Linked DNA regions of Homo sapiens: regions 1 and 2 are each linked to region 3. The links are contacts of gene promoters, found by promoter capture Hi-C in blood cells and fetal thymus (Javierre and others, 2016). All regions are on one chromosome and are shown on one strand. Each heading gives the region's core, a stretch centred on a gene start or on the middle of the fragment in contact. The rest is flanking DNA. Distances are from core to core; before and after follow the strand shown. Region 1 holds the start of MIR8074 (microRNA 8074). Region 2 overlaps SIGLECL1 (SIGLEC family like 1). Region 3 holds the start of KLK4 (kallikrein related peptidase 4).

Region 1 (4,856 bases), core at 1,315-3,814, 300 kb before region 3:
CACTCCAGGCCTGGCCCGAGTCACGGCCTCTTCTTGACCTGTGGGGTGGTTCGTCCTGCAGGATATAGGTTTCTGTAGGGTTCATGTAAGTGTCTGGGGCAGAAGAAATGAAGAAGGGTCCTAGATGTGGTGAAGGTGACAGTCATTCATTCATTCAATTCATTCATTCATTCATTCACCTAAGCTATACCGAGCATCTATGTGCCAATGAGGCTGGAGACAAGAAGAGATGCCACTGACCTGGTCCCTCCCCTTTAGATACTCCCCATCCATAGCCTCATGTTCACCACACACAAATACTGTTTGGCTTCACAGCTGTGGATGCTGGTGACTTTGCCATATGTCATGGTATCATATGAGGTATTTTTAAGAAGTATGACTATGGATTTTTTCCCCTGGCAGTTAGTACACTGATTTGCAATGTTTCAGCGACATCTCTAAAATAAGAAACATGTAGTATTTTCATGTAAAACGAAAGCTTCTGTGAACAAGTCCAGAAGAAATTTCTTTTCCATTAGTGTTGCCATTCCCTGCAGTGGGGACAGCAGCAATTTTTTTATGGGGCTTACCATAGAGATTAGCATTTTCTTTCATGTAAAAATACATTTCTGATAATTAAATGAGGCCCAAAGACATAATGTTTCCAGACAATATGAGTTGAATGTACAGACAAAATTAAAATTTAGCTTCAGCTCATATGGTTTTTTATTTTACTCTCTGTGGTACACACCTGGGAGATCCTCAATGCCTGAGACATATCAGTATTTGCAACCATATACAGGTAAAATCTCTATACACAGTAGTATCTATAAAAATGTTCATTCATCCTACCTACCATAGAGAGGTATTTCCATCCTCTTTTTAAATATAAGGAAGTGAGTCCTCAATAGATAAAACAATATCTTGCTGTAAGTTATTTTAAAAGATAGTATAGGCACATAATATAATATTCAGTATATTTACTTTTAACAGTAAAATATCATACCACATTCATGGAGTAGAAGGATACATAAGAAAATCTGTCTTACTGTGTTTCTTTAATGAACTTAACTAGGTATAATTTACATGAGGTGATGTGCACCCACTTGAAGTGTTCATTTTCATGAATTTTGACAGGTGCATACAGCCCTGTTGTGACTGGCACAATCAAGATATACAACATTTCCACTACACCAAGGGCTTTGCCTAACCTCTTTGCAGTTCATCATTCCCACTTCTTGTGCCAGGCAACCACTGAGATCCTCTCTCTCATAGTGTGTCGCTTTTGCCTATTTCAAAATTTCCTAGGAAGGAATGTACTCATCTGTGTCTGTATTCTGTCACTCAGCATATTTTTTGAAACTGAACCAAGTTGTTTGTGCCTATAGTTTTCACAGTGTGATATTGCTCAGTAGTATCCCATTGTATGAATATACTATAGTCCTATATTTATTCATCTATTGATAGGCATTTGAGATTTCCCCATTTTTCACTAATGGTACTCAGGTGTAAGTCTTTTTATAGACTTTTGTTGTTGTTGTGGCTGTTGAGATGGAGTTTTGCTCTGTTGCCAGGCTGGAGTGCAGTGGCGTGATTTATATATATGAAGTCTCGCTCTGTCACCCAGGCTGGAGTGCCATGGCACCATCTCAGCTCACTGCAGCTTCTGTCTCCGTGTTCAAGCAATTCTCCTGTCCTGTTGTCAATCACTGCACAGGACATCAACACCAGACAAGGACATTCTTTGAGCATAATGGATCAAGACAAGAATAAGACCACAGCACAGTCATGCCTTAACACAGACACAAACAAGAATGTTGTCCAAATTGGAAAATGGCTACATATTTCCCATCTAGGGTAACAGGAAAGACTGATGATTATTTACCAATTACAGCCACAGCCTTTCCTATAGACTAAATGTTGGTGTCACCCTAAAATTCATGTATTGATGTCCTAATTCTTAATGTGATGTGATGATATTTGGAGGTGGGGCCTTTAGGAGATAATGGGATTTAGGTGAGCTCATGGAAGTGGAATGCCCATGCTGGGATTATGGCACTTGTAAGAATGAGGAAGGGACCAGAGCTCTCTCTCTCCCATGTGAGGATATAGTGAGAAGGCAGTCATCTGTGACCCAGGAGCGGGGACCTCACTAAGAACCCAGTTGTACTGACATCTTTATTTTGGTCTTCCAGCCTCCAGAACTATGAGAAATAGATGTTTGTTTTTTGTTTGTTTGTTTGTTTTTTGAGACAGAGTCTTGTTCTGTCACCCAGGCTGGAGTGCAGTGGCACGATCTTGGCTCACTGCAAGCTCCGCCTCCTGGGTTCACACCATTCTCCTGCCTCAGCCTCCCGAGTAGCTGGGACTACAGGAGTCCGCCACCACGCCCGGCTAATTTTTTATATTTTTAATAGAGACGGGGTTTCACCGTGTTAGCCAGGATGGTCTCGATCTCCTGACCTTGTGATCCACCCACCTTGGCCTCCCAAAGTTAGATGTTTGTTTTTTAAGCTAGCCGGTCTGTGATATCTCTTATTCTAGCCCAAACTGACTAAGGTAGCTTTGGTCTAGTTCTTTCTCCTTTTTTATTAGATGTATGAAGATCCAGTGTTAGAATTATGCTGACTTCCTGACATCCAAAGAAGCAAACACTGCTTTTTAAAAAGTTTCCCCAAATCACCTAACACAAGTCCAAATCCTATAATAAGCCAGTTATAATTCTCTCTTACTGAAACACCTCATGGTTTTCGTGGTTCCTCACTGCAATGAGTAATAACCCAACTACATATCTATTCCTGGTGCCTGCTGATCTCTGGCCAGAAGACACTGACATGTTTATTGACTTGGTCAATGTTGACATTTGTTTCCTTGAAGCTGTTCCAGGATTTGGATTTTATTAATGACTTTTTGTTCTACTGATGGCAGCTAGGGTTAGTGAGATGAGGTGGGTTCCCATCCCCTGCTCGCTGCTGACCTGAGGACTATGTCCCACTGTGTTTGGAAAGCATCAGCCCTGCCCTGTTTCCTTACTGTCCTCCAGTCCAGCCAGAAGAACATAGGCTGGGCGCAGTGGCTCATGCCTGTAATCCCAGCATTTTGAAGGGCCAAGGCAAGTGGATCACCTGAGGTCAGGAGTTCGAGGCCAGCCTGGCCAACATGGTGAAACCCCATCTCTACTAAAAATACAAAAATTAGCCAGGTGTGATGGTGGGTGCCTGTAGTCCCAGCTACTCAGGAGGCTGAGGCAAGGAGGATCGCTTGAACCTGGGAGGTGAAGATCGCTGTGACCAAGATCATGCCACTGCACTCCAACTGGGTGACAGAGTAAGACTCCATCTCAAAAAAAAAAAAAAAAACATAATAAGAACAGAATAGATTGGAATGCATGTTTTCATCTTTTCTAATTACTCTCTCTGCTGGACGTTTGCCTAATGACCTCATTTTCTGATTGGAAGCAGGAATGTCAGCCCTCTCTTAGGAGTATTTCATTGCAATCAACATAATTACACAGGAAACTGGTGTCCCTCTAAAGTGGAGACGTTTGGACAAGTTGTTCCATAAGTCACTTTTCAAGGTAAGATGGAACAACCAAGTTGAAGGAGGGATGGTAGCAGCTGCAATGAGGTGAATAGTTTTATAGTCAGGAAAGGGTCTCTATCACTACACTGTGTTTATTTCCTCTTAAGCCAGAATCAAGGTATCTTCTGAGAGTAGGGTGGTGGGAGGCAGCAGAGAATAGAAGAACCCAGTTCCTGAGTTTATGCAAGATGCCCATGGGAGCCCAGAGACGTCCTATGGCGAGACTGGCATGTACTCACACAACTGAAACCCTCTCAAGATAAGGGTCATTCTTTGACCAGAGAAAACAGCATCCTTCATGCCCTTCCATATTAATCTCTGCCTCCACATACAGTCTGAGAAGCAACCAGTGTTCTGACATTTGTCACCATCAACTAGTTTTACATGTTTTACAACTTCCTATAAATGGATTCACACAGTAAGCACTTGCTTCACCCTGAGCATCTCTGCTGTTTCTTTAAAATTTCAGTAATATTTGAAAATCAGAAAAGAATTTCTTCCATTTGCTAATTTAAAGTATAACATTCAGGCTGGGCCCGGTGTCTCACGTCTGTAATCCCAGCATTTCGGGAGGCCAAGGCAGACGGATCGCCTGAGCTCAGGAGTTCAAGACCAGCCTGGGCAACATGGTGAAACCCCATCTCTACTAAAAATACAAAAAACTAGCTGGGCATAGTGGTGGGTGCCTGTAATCTCAGCTACTCAGGAGATGGAGGCATGAGAATTGCTTGAATCCAGGAGGCGGAGGTTGCAGTGAGCTGAGATCGCACCGTTCTACTCTAGCCTGGGTGACAGAGTGAAACTCTGTCTCAAAAAAAAGAAAAAGTATAAAATTCAGTGGCATTTATTGCATTCACAGTGCTGTGTAATCATCACCACCATCTAGTTTCTGAACATTTTTATCACCCTGAAAGGGAAACAGTCACTTTCTATTGCCTGCTTCCCAGAGCCCCTGGAAACTACTAACGTGTACCTATTTCCATGGATTTATCTATGCTGGATATTTAATGTGAATGGAATAATTTCAGTCTTTCATCATTGAGTGTAATGTTACCTGTGGGTTTTCTCTAAATGGCCTACTAAGCTTGATGAGTTTCCATGTCTGGCTTCTTTTACCAAGGGTAATGTTTTCAAGGTAAATCCATGTTTACGAGGATAATCCTTGTTGTAGCATGCATCATTATTTCATTTCTTTTTTTGGACTGAGTGATATCCCATTGCATGGAAAGACCACATTCCATTTATCCATTTGTCAGTTACTGGGCATTTTAGTTGTTTGTACTTTTTGGCTCATG
Region 2 (4,722 bases), core at 1,429-3,928, 350 kb before region 3:
AACATCTCCCTACCACAGTATAATTGTTTTGCCATAAAATTTGAAATGAATGGTGTAAGTAACATTGTATAGCATGGCACAATGTTCCCTTTTATATCCCATGTAGACATTTATTTAATAAATTTGTTCTCAGTAAATTTCTATTAAAAAAGAGACAGCACGAGACCCTGTCTCAAAAAAATGATCAATTCCAATTCCTACTGGATATCATGACTTAAAAATCCATAGTAATTCCAGCGTGGGCAACATGGTAAAACCCCGTTTCTACAAAAAATACAAAAATTATCTGGGTGTGGTGGTACGCACCTGTAGTCCCAGCTACTTGAAAGGTTAAGGTGGGAGGATCACCTGAGGTAGGGAGGTCAAGGCTGCAGTCAGCCGTGATCACGCCACTGCACTGTAGCTTTGGGCTACAGAGTAAGACTTTATCTCAAAATAAATAAGTAAATAAATAAAATACATACATACATACATAGTAATTCATAGAGTATGGTATTGACACAAGGATAAATAAAAATACCAATGGGACAGGCTATATGGTTAGAAAAATACCTATACATATGTGATCACTTGGTTTAGGATAAATATGGCACTGCATAGAAGTTAAAGGACTCTCTTTTGAATAAATTGTGTCAGAATAACTGGACAGCCATACAGCAAAAGGAAATAAGACCCCTACCTCATGTCATACATAAAAATAACTTCTAGGGACATTGGGAAAGTCCTTAGACTTTTTTTCTAGAACAGTGCTGTGTGAAGAAATATAATGTGACCTATAAATGTGGACTACATGTATAATTTTAAATTTTCTAGCAGCCACATTAAAAAGGAAGAAATGGGTAAAATTAATTTTAATGATGTTTCATTTAACCTAGTGAAAGAAACCTAGGTTATTCACTAGGTTATTCATATTGAACCTAACCCAATATTTCAACATGCAATCAACACAAAATTGTTAAGATTTGGTACATTCTTTATACACTCTTCAAAATCTTGTATATATTTTACACTTACAGCACACTTCAATTCAGACTAGCCATAATATAAGGGCTCAATAGCCATATGTAGTTAGTAGCTACCACATTGGTCAGTGGAATTCTTTAATACAACATAGGAGAGTATCTTGGTAAGTTTTAGGTAAGGAAATATTTCTTTAAAAGGGCCAAAAAGCACTAGCTATGAGGAAATATGGATAAAATGGACTGTATCAGAATTAATTTCTGCATCAAAAGATACCATTAAGGAGGACAAATGCAAGTTGCAGGGCTGGAGAACATACTTGCAACACATACAACGTGCTTGCATCCAGAACATAGCAAGGATAAAGGGGGTAATGAATGGTGTAGTACATGAGTGGAGTGTTTGGGGTGTTGTTAATGTTCTATTTCTTGACCTCAGTGGTGGTTACACTGGTCTGCTCCCTTTGTGATAATTTGAGTTGTATACTTACTATCTGTATTAATACTTCTCTGTATAAAATTGTACTTTGATTTAAAAGCTTGTTTGAAAATAAAGACAGAGAAACAAACAGAAGGGATACAAAAGAGAATAGAACGGTTGGGACAAGTAGAAATCATGTACCTAGATGTTAGATTTAAACTCCAATACATCAGTGATTTAACTAAATATAAATGGCTTAAATTATCCAGTTATGAATCTAAGATCATCATATTGGAAAAAAGAAGCAAAGCCAAACTCCATGCTGTTTACAAAAGACACAACCAAAGCATAAGTGTAAAGGACAGTTAAAAAACCAAATGGGCCGGGAGCGGTGGCTCATGCCTGTAATCCCAGCACTTTGGGAGGCCGAGACGGGCGGATCACGAGGTCAGGAGATCCAGACCATCCTGGCTAACACGGTGAAACCCCGTCTCTACTAAAAATACAAAAAATTAGCTGGGTGTGGTGGCGGGCCCCTGTAATCCCAGCTACTCAGGAGGCCGAGGCAGGAGAATGGCATGAACCTGGGAGGCAGAGCTTGCAGTGAGCCGAGATCATGCCACTGCACTCCAGCCTGGGCGACAGAGCAAGACTCCGTCTCAAAAAAAGAAAAAAAGAAAAAACCAAAGAATGAAAACATACACCAAGCAAATACCAACCAGAAAGCCAGGTAATGTAGACATACCTACATTAACATCCCATAAAGCAGACTTTAAGCAAAAGGCATTACCAAAGATAGAATGGCATATCTCCTAATGATAAGCTGACATTAACAGGAATAAAGTATATATTTAAAATTTGTGTTTGCCTACTAACATAGTCCAAAAATATATAAAGCAAAAAATCTACAAAAATAAAAGGAGAAACAGACATCCACAATAGTAGTGTGACATTTTAATCACTGTTCTCTCAGAAACTGACAGAACAAACAGACTATTGGAATATATAAAGATTTCAACAACTTGATCAGCAAATTTGACCAAAAATATATAGAGAATACTGCAATCAATAACTGCAGAATACAATTTCTTTGTAAGCACACAGAGAACGTTTACAGAAATTGGCCACAGCTGGATCATAAGACAAATCTTAATAAAATTTCCATGAAAATATTTAAAATCTCATTAATAACCAGCAAAATGCCTGTTAAAACCATCAGATACCAGTACATATCCAAGACAATATATCAAGTCTTGGTGAGAATGTGGTACTCAACTTTCACACACTATTGGTGGAAATATAAATCAGGGCAACAAAGTTATTTATCAAAGCAGAAGATACACATACTCTATGACCCTCAATTCCACTCCCAGATGTATACTTTATAGAAATGTTTGTGCATATGTACGCCACAAAGGAATGCAAAAATGTTTACAGTGGTATTATTTAAAAATAGCTAAAAAGGTAAACAATCCAAATGCCAGTAAACAGAGAATTTTAAAAAATGAGATACTACACAGCAACAAAAACCTATGAGCTAATGCTAGATGCAACAACATGGACCATTCTTACAAATAAAATATTGAATGAACAAAGCCAGACACAAATAAGTAATAATGTATGAGCATTTCTTTAAAATTTGAAAAAAACCGGGCAAAATCAAGTGTTTAAGAACGCACACACAAGTAGTAAAAATCCTTTAAAAGTTGCCAAGAAATGTCCAGCATAAAAGGTAGGATATTAATTGCCTTTTTGGGAGGAAGAGGTCTGTTTCTCTGTTTATTTTATCATTTGTAGGGGGTATGAACAGGTCTTTTGAGATACTGGCTATAGTGAATTCCATAAGGCTGTACCCTATATAGGCATCCTTTTAATAGTACAGTTTCCCATTGCCCATCTGCCTGACCATATGGCCAGGCCATTGGCCACTGCCCATGAATTGGTAAAAACCCAAATGTGGAGGCAGTTCAGCCCACTGAAGTGACTTGTTTTTGCCTTCCTCAGTATGAGTGCCAGTCTTCCAAACAGGATGTTATTAATTCACTTTGGAATTGCCATCCATAAATCAAACCGCTCTTAGTTGGTCAATCAAGAGCTATTAATAGACATCATTCAAGTAATAATAGGATCTCGCAGCTCTTCAGTAGGGAAAAAGCCACCTGTTCATAAATATAACGAGGACCTCCTTGCATTTCCCTGGTAGCATGTTCCTGTATAAACAATTTCCATTTTATTACGAGACTCTTTTGGGCATGGCCTTCCTTACTACAGTGTTTTTCCAACATGACAAACACATCATGAGGATTTCAGGTGTCAGGATTATTATATCCTTCAATGATGGGGCAGACTCAAAGCCCAATAGGCAGCTAGTTGTCTCTCCATTGGAAATTTTCTGGCCCCAAATCCCAGCATTCACCACTGGGTGGTGCTCACTGGCCTTAGCTCCAGTCTGCCTAAATAAAGCAAACGTTAAGCTTCTAACATGTTTTGTCCACCAGATATCCTGTACTGTTTCAAATTAACAATTAGTGTGGGCTTGGGCAATCTTATTGGTTCCTATTTAGCATATTCAATCAATATTGGTTGAAGGGAAGATTTACATGCCTTCTGTTTCATAATAGTACGTAGGGGAACTCTTCCATAGTTGGACACAATATCTTTCCTCATAATACATTTAGGTAAATACATTCACATAACATATTTACATAGTCTGTCCAAACATTCCAATTTTCATCCAAAGTTTCGCCTGAATCTCATCCACTTTGTAATCCTATGTCTTCGCAATCTAACCATAGATGCTATTAGAATTTCACCAACCTTTTGGAATGCAGGTATAAGACTCCCACATGAGTCCCAGAAATATCTCTTATCCATCCCCTGACTATTTTACTACTAATATGCATATGACTTTGGGTCTTCAGTTAGGGGTCAGGCCAAGCAACCCAGGCCCTTTTGTCATTTATCTTGATTAGATCACATGTTCGTCCCCTCAGGAGATCTGAGGTCAGATTTCCCATTGTCATGTTTGCCTTCTGGCTTCTAAAATTCCTCCAAACTAGGGTAAATATAGCAGACTTGATGGGGGACCTTCAACACTGGAGGGCAAGTCTAGGTTCTCACTGCTCCACCTAATTTCTAAGAGTGCTCCACTGAGACCTTTGTTTAGACTCCCTCAATGTCCACTTAACTCATCTCATTTCTTAATAACTGTTTATAAAGATTTCCACCCTCTTGGAAATGTTCGTCTTTTCTCACTCTCTGGTGAACCACTCTAATTTTCTTTGCCATCTGTCATTTCAGCCTAACTTTTCCCTTTAGCCACAGCCCTGAGGCTAGCAGCTG
Region 3 (4,380 bases), core at 1,082-3,581:
AGACACAGAGAAAGATGGACAGACACAGGTGCAGAGACAGACAGAGAGACAGAGACAGAGATGGGAGGAGAGAGACACAGAGAAAGATGGACAGACAGGTGCGGAGACAGACAGAGAGACAGAGACAGAGATGGGAGGAGAGAGACACAGAGAAAGATGGACAGAGACAGGTGCGGAGCCACAGACAGAGACAGAGATGGGAGGAGAGAGACACAGAGAAAGATGGACAGACACAGGTGCAGAGACACAGACAGAGAGAGAAGGCAAGGTGAGACAGAGACAGGAGGAAAGAGAGACACACAGGGGCAGACAGAGACAGACAGAGATCAGAGGGTCACAGACAGAGGTCAGAGGGAGAGCGAGAGAGAAGGGATCAGAGAGAGAAAGGGACAGGGACAGGGAAAAGAGAGACAGAGACAGAAACCTGCCAGGGCTTCCTGTTCTGTGGTCCCAGCCTATGTCCCGTCCTGCCCAGAGTTATCTGGGGGCGCACGGGCCCAGGACAGAGTTGGGGGAGGGTCTCACTTGGGATGCTTCCAGTCTGGCAGGTGAGAGAAACAGAGACAAGGGGGAGAGAGACAGAGATGGGACCAGAGAGGCAGAGGAAAAGAGAGCCAGAGAGAAAGAGAGACAGACACACGGGGTGGGCTGTGGGGGAAAGAAGTAAGGAAGGAGAAGGAAAGAGTGTTAGAGACCCAGGAGAGACAGAGAGACACAGAGACATTCCTGCCTCGTCGCGGTCACCTGCGGGCACTATCCCTCACCCGCGCCGGCTCCGCGGTCTACACCCACCCACTCCTTGGATGATCTCACCCGGCCTCGTGGCTGTAAACACCACCTCTCCCCTGATGAGTCCCCGCTGTTTCTCGGCAGTCCTGACCTCGGCCTGCCCCTCCGTGCACCCTCCGCGGTCTACGGCACCCTCTCACCCCCCACCCCCCTTCCCGCACCTATGCGTCTCCACAAGATCCGTAGAGCGCAAGCCAGCAGACCAAGCCTCCACGCCATCCTTGGCCCCTCTGCTCCTGGCCCCCCACTTTCCATCCATCGGGCAGTAACTTGGCTCCACATGCAGAGGGGACCCCGTGTCCATTCACCTCTCTTCTCCCTTGACCCCGTCACCTCCCACCTGGGCTGTTGCCACTGCCCCCCGCCCCGCCCCCACCATCACTCTCCAAGCTGGAAGTTTTTAAAAAGTAAATAAGATTATGTCACTCCATCCTCGTGCTTAAAATCCATTGCACTTAAGTAAAACCCAAGCTCCTTAATCCTGGTACGTAAACTCCTGCAGGCCCGCCCGGTTCCCGGTCTGCGCTCCTACCCGCCCTGCCCTCCTACCCGCCCTGCCCTCCTCTGGCTGGAGCCAAGTTCTCCCCTGCACCCCGCAACCGCCCCTGCTGCGGCGACCCTCCTCCTCCTCTTCCCTGGGATCTCAGCTTAAATGTTCCCCTTCTCTGAGTCTCCCCGACCACCACCTTATATGCTGGTCCCTGCAGTTTTCCTTTATGGTCTGTGCCCCCGGGTAGGACGCGATCCCCAGTGACGAGGACTTTGCTGGTTCCTCCTGTGGCCCCAGCACCTGCCGCAGAGCTCGGAGTGTGGTAGGCACTCAGCTGCTTTTCACTGAGCGAAGACTTTTTAGTTCTCCCGCTCACCGAGAGCCTACAATGTGCCTGGCACTGTGTGCCTTTCCCTGAATTACCTCTTTGAATCCACTTGGGAAATGGGGCATAATGGTCACTCCAGTTTTACAGTTGGAAAAACAGGCTCACAGGGGTGCAGTCACTTGCCCAAGGTTCCAAAAATAGTTCGTGATGTAGGCTGGATACGAACCTGGGGAAATTTGCTGGAGAAGCACAGAAAGAGAGGGATGAAGGAGGAGGGGAGAGAGAGAGAGAGATTTAATTTAAAAAGAGAAAGAACATGAGAGAGAACAGGAGAGAATGAGAGGAAATGAAAGAAAACACGAGAAAAATAATGAGAGAGAGAATGAGAGAAAGAAAGAAGAAGAGAAAGAGAAAATGAGAGATACAGGCAAGAGAGAGGTATCTCATGAGAGAGAATAAGAACATGAAAAGAGAAAGAATGAGAGAGAGAGAGAGAAAGAAAAAGGAGAGTGGAGTCTAGGATCTGGGCAGGGGTCTCCTCCCTGGGTCCCTAGACCCTGCTGCCAGCCCCTTCTGGGCCCCCAACCACTGCCTGGTCAGAGTTGAGGCAGCCTGAGAGAGTTGAGCTGGAAGTTTGCAGCACCTGACCCCTGGAACACATCCCCTGGGGGCAGGCCAGCCCAGGCTGAGGATGCTTATAAGCCCCAAGGAGGCCCCTGCGGGAGGCAGCAGGCTGGAGCTCAGCCCAGCAGTGGAATCCAGGAGCCCAGAGGTGGCCGGGTAAGAGGCCTGGTGGTCCCCCACTAAAAGCCTGCAGTGTTCATGATCCAACTCTCCCTACAGCTCCATGTCGCTGGATTCTCAGCCTCTGTGCCTTCTGTCTCCACATCTCTCTAGACAGATCTCTCACTGTCTCTAGTTAGGAGTCACTGTCTCTAGTTAGGGGTCTCTCTGTCTCTCTGAATCTATATCTCCATGTCTAACTCTCAGACTGTCTCTGAGGATATCTCTCAAGCACTCTGTCTCTCCGGCTCTGATTCTCTGTGTGTCTTCCCTCCATGCTTGTTTGTGGGTGGCTAGACACCATCTCTCCCCATTCACAGATGGCTAGATGCTTTCTCTAAACTTTCCTTTCTACCTAGTTCTCTCTCTCTCTCTCTTTTCCCATCTCTCTCTCTCTTTTTCTCTCTCAGTCTCTAAATCTGTCTCTCTAGGTTCTGGGTCCATGGATGGGAGAGGGGGTAGATGGTCTAGGCTCTTGCCTACCTAATAACGTCCCAGAGGGAAGAAAGGGAGGGACAAAGAGAGGGATGGAGAGACTTGGGCTGAAGATCCCCAGACACGGCTAAGTCTCAGTCCTCATCCCCAGGTGCTGACGTGATGGCCACAGCAGGAAATCCCTGGGGCTGGTTCCTGGGGTACCTCATCCTTGGTGTCGCAGGTATCTGAGTATGCGTGTGTGTGTCTGTCCGTGCTTGGGGGCACAGTGTTTGTTAATGTTCAGGTGTGACTCAGTGTCCTCTTGCTTGTGACTGCAAAGCTGCCTGTGAGACGGTACCGTGTTATCCGTCCCCCATGGCTGTGCCCCTGCAACTCCTTGTATCGTGGTAAATTTGTGTGTGGCAGTGTGCCTGGGTGTGTGGTTGTACCTGTGAGACTCTGACAGTTTGTGCCTCTGAATATCTGGTGGAGTGACAACAGTGTAATGATGATATGGGGACAGGGGAAGCCGAGGGTGCAGGAGATTGTGCTTCCTGGGGCGTGATCCATTGCTGGGAATCTGTGCCTGCTTCCTGGGTCTTCAGTCCTGAGATCCCCCTCTCCCATCCCCAAGGAACTCACCTCACAGGACTATAAAACGGTGTTTTGGTGTGCATGGGCTTGTGGCTTGGTGTGACTGTGGGCAAGGCTGGGAGAGGATAGGAGTGACTCGGCGCAGGACCGACTCTTTGAGCATCAGTCTGCGCAGACAAGTGACCCGATCCTTGCTCCCAGCAACAACTCCACCCCCTGAGCTTTAATTCACCCCGAAGGACCCGATCCTACTGCTATGAGCCTAGACTCCTCTGTTGAACCCCTCCTGACCGTGGCTTTGCACCGCGATGGCACCAGTCTCACCTCCAGAGCTCACCCCAGAGCCCTGACTCCGCCCCAGAAGCCCTGGTCCCACCTTCTGAGACTGCCTCTAGCCATAACCCAGCTCTTGAAGCCTTGATGGCGCCCCTGCGCTGTAACCCCAACCCTAGGAGCACTGATCCCGCCTTCTCAGCCCACCCCCATGCCCTGACTCTCCTCCCAGGAGCCCTGACTACCCTGAATCCCTGACCAGGCTCCTGCACCGTGATCACCGCCCCTGGGAGCCCTAGGCCTATATCCTGGACCAGCCCCTGAAGCTCCGATCATGACCCCTGCACCATAACCCCACCCCCAGGAGCCCTGGGTCCGCCCCCTGGGCCCGCCCCCAGCCCTGACTCGGCCCCCCAAGAGTCCTGACTGCTCCTGAAGCCCTGACCACGCCCCTGCTCGGTAACCCCTCCCCCAAGAGCCCTGGGCCCGCCTCCTGAGCCCGTTCCCAGCCCTGACTCCGCCCCGAGGAGCCCTGACTGCTCCTGAACCTCTGACCACGCCCCTGCTCGGTAAGCCCACCCCCAGGAACCCTGGGCCCGCCTCCTGGTCCCGATCCCATCCCTGACTCCGCCCTCAGGATCGCTCGTCTCTGGTAGCTGCAGCCAAATCATAAACGGCGAGGACTGCAGCCCGCACTCGCAGCCCT

The links. The method cuts DNA at HindIII sites, captures the fragments that hold promoters and counts their contacts. A CHiCAGO score of 5 or more calls a contact.
Region 1: a fragment that was not itself captured here is called in contact with the fragment with the promoter of KLK4 in region 3 in 1 of 17 cell types (non-activated CD4 T cells); the score reaches 5.1 in non-activated CD4 T cells.
Region 2: a contact is called between a fragment that was not itself captured here and the fragment with the promoter of KLK4 in region 3, in 1 of 17 cell types (non-activated CD4 T cells). The highest score is 5.0, in non-activated CD4 T cells.

What each region holds. Positions count from the first base shown.
Region 1 is chr19:51,205,881-51,210,736 of GRCh38, reverse strand. MIR8074 (microRNA 8074) reads left to right here and starts at 3,728; the gene lies at 3,728-3,808. The region is part of intron 2 of LOC107985327 (a long non-coding RNA gene); the gene reads left to right. LOC124904751 (a long non-coding RNA gene) reads left to right here. Exons shown (of 3, transcript XR_007067311.1): 3 at 1-696. The HindIII fragment of the contact is 4,167 bases long and covers 481-4,647 here.
Region 2 is chr19:51,258,626-51,263,347 of GRCh38, reverse strand. The region is part of intron 1 of SIGLECL1 (SIGLEC family like 1); the gene reads right to left. All of the region lies in intron 2 of LOC107985327 (a long non-coding RNA gene), which reads left to right. Among named protein-coding and RNA genes, the nearest start is that of SIGLECL1, 9.9 kb to the right of the region's middle. The HindIII fragment of the contact is 2,356 bases long and covers 1,501-3,856 here.
Region 3 is chr19:50,909,346-50,913,725 of GRCh38, reverse strand. It overlaps KLK4 (kallikrein related peptidase 4), which reads left to right and starts at 2,331. Exons shown (of 6, transcript NM_004917.5): 1 at 2,331-2,387; 2 at 2,977-3,048; 3 at 4,312-4,380. The coding sequence starts at 2,988. The HindIII fragment of the contact is 22,926 bases long and covers 1-4,380 here.